Linked DNA regions of Homo sapiens: region 2 is linked to region 1. The links are contacts of gene promoters, found by promoter capture Hi-C in human tissues and cell types (Jung and others, 2019). All regions are on one chromosome and are shown on one strand. Each heading gives the region's core, a stretch centred on a gene start or on the middle of the fragment in contact. The rest is flanking DNA. Distances are from core to core; before and after follow the strand shown.

Region 1 (3,416 bases), core at 488-2,987:
GGTTATAACTGAATAGGATATAAAAGCTGTAAGTGTTATAAAAGTAAAAACTTCAGAGTTTGTGAGGGGGGAGAGGAAAGGACAGCTGAAGGTGGATTACAAAGGCTGACACTGTCATCTTACGAAGTGGGGAGTCAAAAGAGACTGCAGTTGATGAAGGAAGAAATAAAGGTGTAGTAACATTACATGTAAAAGATACCTGTAGACCTAATCCCCTGATTCCAGATGTGGATCAATACACAATAGATACATTAATATAACTGTATCTAGAAGATGAAGAAAAATGATGCCAAAAATAGACAAATCAATAAAATAGATGAGTTAAAAGTGGTTATATATGGAGATCGGGATTGAGGATGAGGGGAAGTGGGATAGAAGATAGCTTCTTGCTATAAGCTTTTTGTAATATTTAATTCTCGGTAACCAATGGTTAGTACTACTTTAATGGAAATAAATTCAAATAGAGGGAGAGAATAGGTTCATGACTCAGTCAAGTCCCAAATTCTTTTGCAAAGAAACTCCTCTTTCCTATTAAAAAATTCCAAGTCCTTGTTGTCTTGTAACTACAAGTATACCTTCTGCAATTACTAATGAAGGGGGACTTTGTAAAAGTTACCCTATTTCTTATAAAGATACAACTACAGATTACAAACTCAATTTCTTAAACGTAAAAGGAAATGAGGTAGGGTGAAAGTAAGAAAATACAGATTTATTTTTTGGAACTGTAAATTCAAAATTAATGAGCTATAACGCCTTAGCTGCTTCTAGGTTCTTCCTGTGCTGATGACAATTCAGCAGTGAACAAAAAGAAAATTACAAAGTTAATATCCCTTGCCTTCTCTCAACCTCAAGATTTTTGGCAGCTAGAGTTTCACATTGTTAGGCAGAAAGGTTTAACACAAGCATATGGGATTCATTCATGTCAACTATTCCTCTTTAAAAAAGAATATTTTTTATTTAAAATATTAAACTTCCTTTAAAGACTATTTCAGGAGAAATAAATGTCCCCTCCTTCCTATTCCCTGCCAACACTCCATTTCAAAGTTTCAGCCTGCCCTAGGAAATTGAAAAGGAACTCCCTTGCTGCATCCTAAATGTCTCTTCATTCTAAATGCAAAAGCTTCAGGACAGTCCCCAGGGTGAACAGCATCTCCTGGATCCTCAAAACTACTTCCAGATGTAAGCCCCCAAGATAGACGACCAGATCCAGGTTTCCAACCCCTTTCCAGATGACAGCCTCTAAAAAGATGAGTGTGGCAGAGACCTAGTCCCCTGACTCCAGATGTGGGCCAAAGAGCACATGAATAAATTGAAACATCTCTCCCTACCACATGGAATTCCCTAAGGGAGAAAGCCTTCTGATGCCTCTCCAGCAACACTCCACATTAAGTCTCCAGATACCTAAGTCTCCATAGATCGAAGTGTTATTGTTCTGTCTCTTACCCCTTTTTTCTCTCTTCCTGTTTTCCATCTTCAATACCAAACCACAACAGCAAAACACTGTTCCTCACCTGGGTCAAGTTGCATAACTCTGGACACACTTTGGGGATTAGGTTATTCTGAAGGACTAGAGTCTTCAGGCCAGGCAGTTTTCCTAATGCTGAGGGCATCTTTGTCATCTTCTTCCCATTCAAAGTAATGATCTTCGTATTTTTACCACCACTCAATGCTTTTATTAACAATCTCTCAGTCATGATCTTGGAAAAGAAGTAGAAAACAAGGTAACCATTAGAGTTCTTTATTATACAGCTTTAGAACCTCTAATTACAGAATTGGTGTGTCATAGAAACAAGAACATTCTGAGATCCACCATGTTGAAGGGGGGAAGCATTAGATTATTTTCCTATGTGAAAGATACGAAAGGAAAGTAGATGGTCCAGGTTTGGGGCAGGAAATGTATAATGTAAGCCTAAAATAGCTTATGCCTGCGATATTAAAGCTATCAGAGATTAATGAGGACACAGAAGTGAACTTCTAGGAGCTCCCACTAGTCTAAGATGGAAAATATTAAGGATCAGAAAGAAATAATCTAGAATAGACTGAAACATATCAAAACACATTAAAATCTGAGTTCATAATGGCATTTTTTAAAAAGAAACATTACTCACCCTGGGAATTACTAGCGCACCAACTCAGTCTGAAAATTGATAAAGGAAAAAATATAAGCATTTATTCTGCTTTTCCAGTACAAACTGCACTTAAATATAACTTAATAGTTAATAAAGTTCTTATTCACAAGAATTGAAACTAATAAATGAGAAAGACAAAATAACTAGAATAATCACAATTTTTGCAAATTCTAATAAAATAATGGAGCTATGCAAAAATCATAATTGGAGACTGAAAGTATTAGATGAAAGGTTGATGAGGAACTTTATAATCAAGTGATCAGGTTAATAACCCACTAATCATTTTAGCATCAATAAAATTGAGACAATCACATTATAAGCCTTATGAAGTAATGAATTAAAAAGTACACAGCAGCACCACCTATGAAATGTTCCTGTCCAAAAATTAAATCTGAATCTAATCATGGCTTCAAGATCTAACTACCATTTACAAAAAAACAGAACTAGAGAATAAGTTAAGTTCATTATAGGGAAACAGTCAAATCTATAACATGGAAGATTCTACAGGACTGGTCCCTGGTCCAATGTCACAAGGTTTCACCAACAAATGAAAGACATTAATAAAAAGGAGGGAAAACTGTTACGATGTAAGTGAAACTTAGGGCAAATAACAGCTAAATGCAATGTCTGGACTGTATTTGAATCCTCAGTTGAATACAAACATCTCAGGGAAATTTGTTCATCGGCTATTAGATGAGAGAAATTAATTCTGTTACATGTGAAAATGGTATGGTGGTAGTATTTATTTTAAATGTGCTTAACATTCAGAAATGCATACTGAAATTTTCAAGTGAAATAAAATGATATCTTGAGTTTTTTTAAAAATAATCTAGGGGGGAAAGTGGGTGGAAGAAACTGATCAAACAAGATTGACAAAATGTTGATAATTATTAATGCTGAGTAATAGACACATAGGGGTTTGTATTTGTCCATTCTCGCACTGCTATAAATACCTGAGACTAGGTAATTTATAAAGAAAAGAGGGTTAATTGGCTCACAGTTCTGCAGGCTATACAGGAAGCATGGTGCTGGCATCTGCTCAGCTTCTGGGGAGCCCTAAGGAAGCCTACAATAATGGTGGAAGGCAAAGGGAGAGCCAGCACTTCACATGGCCAGAGCTGGAGGAAGATAGGAAGGAGGTGCTACACACATAAACAACTAGATCTCAGGATAACTCACTCACTCACTAGCAGGAAAACAGCACTGAGAGGATGCTAATGCATTCATGAGAACTCCACCCCCAGGATCTAATCACCTCCCACCAGGCCCAGTCTCCAACACTGGGGA
Region 2 (3,376 bases), core at 620-3,119, 150 kb after region 1:
ATATAGATATCCTGAAAACAAACCAATGGCAAAGATGTATGATTGGTGGAATGCTGTAAGAAACAGATAAATGGAAAGGATTGAAATTTGCTTTCAAAACTGTTCAAGTAATTTGCTGGCAATAGGATCTTTTTTTTTGTATCCTGTTTTCCCATAACCGTAGGTTTTTCTGTTATTACCAATGGACATTCTGCTCCACAGACCAAGTTTATATACTCCTTTTGTCTGGGTGGTTTGGGCTGCCATATTCCAGTATGCTTCATTTGAATGATTTTATACTTGAGAGGTCATTGGAATATATTATAGTGTATATTTTCATATCTGGATGCAATCTGGCTTAGTTGCTTAATTACTTTAGATGTATCTTAGGTAAACCACTTAGTAGTCTTAACCATAAAAAGCAATCTTACCAGAAATCATAATTTGTGAGTAAAATTAGAAATACAAACTTATTCATACTGCATTTTTAAATGTAATATCTGCTTTTTTTCTTTCAGATTTTAATTTTAGGTATAAATATGTGCAGCTATTTATTTATTTATTTATTTATTTATTTATTTATTTATTTATTTATTTTGAGACAGTCTCGTTCTGTCACCCAGGCTGGAGTGCACTGGCACGAACTCAGTTCACTGCAACCTCTGCCTCCCAGGTTCAAGTGAGTCTCCTGCATCAGCCTACCAAGTAGCTGGGATTACAGGTATGCACCACCATGCCTGGCTAATTTTTTGTATTTTTTAGTAAAGAGAGGATTTCACCATATTGGCCACTGGTCTCGATCTCCTGTCCTCAGGTCATCTGCCCACCTTCGCCTCCCAAAGTGCTGGGATTACAGGCGTGAGCCATAGCGCCCAGCTAATTATTTTTATTTTTAATCTTCATAACCATTATAACACAAAATGTACAAAACTGGTTTTTAAAAATAGTGTTAGAAGTTATATGGCCATTAAAACCCATAAATAATATTTATATGCTAGCTTCTGCTTACTGGAATAGGCCTGCTGTCACAGTGATAAAACTTTAAAATAAGGTGGGATGTCCCAATAAATGTCAAAATGTTGTAGGTTTTAAAATTGTGTCAAAAATCAAGCCTAACTTTTCCTCTTGTTCTACGAAATTCCAGTAATCATTGTTGAAATTAAATGTAACATGAAATTAATACAAAATAGGGCAGCAATTAAAAGACATTAAATTGTATTGAGCCTGGATTCACAGAACAAGAATTGATCCAGTTTTATCTGTAGTCAGTTTTTCTTTCTAAATTAGGAAATGCTCTGAGAGAGAAAGAGTAATATATGTGCCAATGACACTAGTAGTGTCTAGAAAATAATTCCAGATAATGATAAAGTTGGGTCAGAAAACTATCAGATTAGTCCACATTTTCAATTCTTGCTATAGCATTTTCCCCCTCACTGATAATTCAGTAGCCTCCTGTTCTATCCTCTTTTCCTACTCTATTTTTGATCAGGTTGTTTCTGTCCTGGAAAGACTCAAGACACTAATAAGAACAAGCTTTGTTCCTTTCTTTCCACATTGGTTTGGGAGAGATGGAAATGGGTGTGATGACAGACACAAAAATTACAAGTGTCAGGACTTCGTGGAAATTTTGACCGAAGACCAATATATTTATGATGATGCCAAAGTCCTATTCATTCCTTCATTTAGGAAATAATTTCTTCTTGCCATATACTGTACTATAGTAATACTGTAATAGGGTAGGGAATGTGAAGATAAATAAAATGTGGATCTCACTTTCCTGCATTCTATGTACAAAGCTTGCAGCAGTCATATTTACAGAAGTTGTATTCTAAGATTTTTCTCCCTATTTTATTTTATTTTATTTTAATTTTATTATTATTGTTTTTTGACATGGAGTCTCGCTCTGTCGCCCAGTCTGGAGTGCAGTGGTGCGATCTTGGCTCACTGCAACCCTCCGCCTCCTGGGTTCAAGCAATTCTCCTGCCTCAGCCTCCTGAGCAGCTAGGATTACAGGCATGCCCCACCATGCCCAGCTACTTTTTGTATTTTTAGTAGAGGTGGGGTTTCACCATGTTGGTCAGGCTGGTTTCGAGCTCCTGGCCTTGTGATCCGCCCACCTCAGCCTCCCAAAGTGCTGGGATTACAGGCGTGAGCCACCGCGCCCAGCCTTCCTCCCATTTATAACATCATAACACTATACATCCCCCACTCATCCCCAGGAGCACTGTATCTTTGCATTTTACTCTTTTGGTTTCCTTGATACTCCACTGCTTAAAGAAAGGCATCTCCCCAAGCTTCTCTTAGATATTTTGTTCTTACCTACATACTTTCTTACCAATCCCAGGCTTCAACAATCATCTTGCTGTGGTTAACTCCTGAAAATTACATCTGCAACTGGAGTCCCAAACTCTGGCTATTTCCTGGTGCAGGTTTTTTTTTTTTTCTTCCCTGGCCTAGATTATTGCCCTAATTGGTTAATCTCTCTCCTCTCCATGACATCCACCTTTCTCCCTCCTGTCAGTTATTACTGATTAGAACATGTCACCATCCCTTTCAAAACTTTAAATTACTCCAGGTTGCTGTTCAAAAGCCTCATTATGACATTCTCAACCTCACTTCTTACTCTCTCGTCTGTCTCCACTTGTACTGTAAGTTTTATGCCTTAGTGACACCTTTGCACCTATAAAGCACATTCACACTTCTTGCATTTGTTCATGTCCAAATTTACCAAAGGACCCTTCCTCTCCATCTTTACTTTTCCACATCTCATCTTTTAAGGACTAGCTCAAGTCATTTTCTTAAAAACTATTAAAGAAGTAATCACTTCTCCAAGTCCACAAAACACATATTATCTCTAATGGTGACAGCTATTTTATTCCCTTAGCTGGGTTTTTTTTTTCTGCTAAAATTTGTCTTTGCAAACGTTTCTGTGAAGCTGGACAGAAAGCACTTTATGGGTAGGGATTTTGCCTTTAGTTTGTACCCTTTGTAGCTCCCAACACAGTGCTTGTTCAGAAATGGAGCTCAATCAGTACCAGTAAATTAGGCTAAACACCCTGATGCCTAGCACATATTAATACTCAGTAAATATATATTTAATCAGTAATTGGATGGGTAGATGAACAAATTGTATCCAGTACACTAAATTACAATATGATAAAATATTTGAATAATTTTTTGAAATATGATTTGGTGGTACTTCAAGTTTGTTAATATGATTAGCAAATGACTAATGGTTCAGTATAGCTGGGAATACAAATAGGGTCAACTAAGGACAAAATAGAACAAATATATAGATCTTTTATTTCTTCCCCCCAATCTCAAATCATAAAATATATAAAGAAATAAATAAGAGAGTACCATTGATAAAATATAGAAGGAAAGAGCATACTATCTT

The links. Contacts are between HindIII fragments. The study calls those that stand out against the background at their distance.
Region 2: a fragment that was not itself captured here is called in contact with the fragment with the promoter of LRRC69 in region 1 in 3 of the 25 tissues and cell types used here (H1 embryonic stem cells, hippocampus and psoas muscle).

The regions. Positions count from the first base shown.
Region 1 is chr8:91,100,940-91,104,355 of GRCh38, reverse strand. LRRC69 (leucine rich repeat containing 69) reads right to left here and starts at 1,737. Exons shown (of 8, transcript NM_001129890.2): 1 at 1,512-1,737. The coding sequence starts at 1,694. The HindIII fragment of the contact is 5,612 bases long and covers 759-3,416 here.
Region 2 is chr8:90,951,268-90,954,643 of GRCh38, reverse strand. The region is part of intron 12 of NECAB1 (N-terminal EF-hand calcium binding protein 1); the gene reads right to left. It also overlaps a transcript of LOC105375634 not described here. Among named protein-coding and RNA genes, the nearest start is that of C8orf88, 32 kb to the left of the region's middle. The HindIII fragment of the contact is 5,493 bases long and covers 1-3,376 here.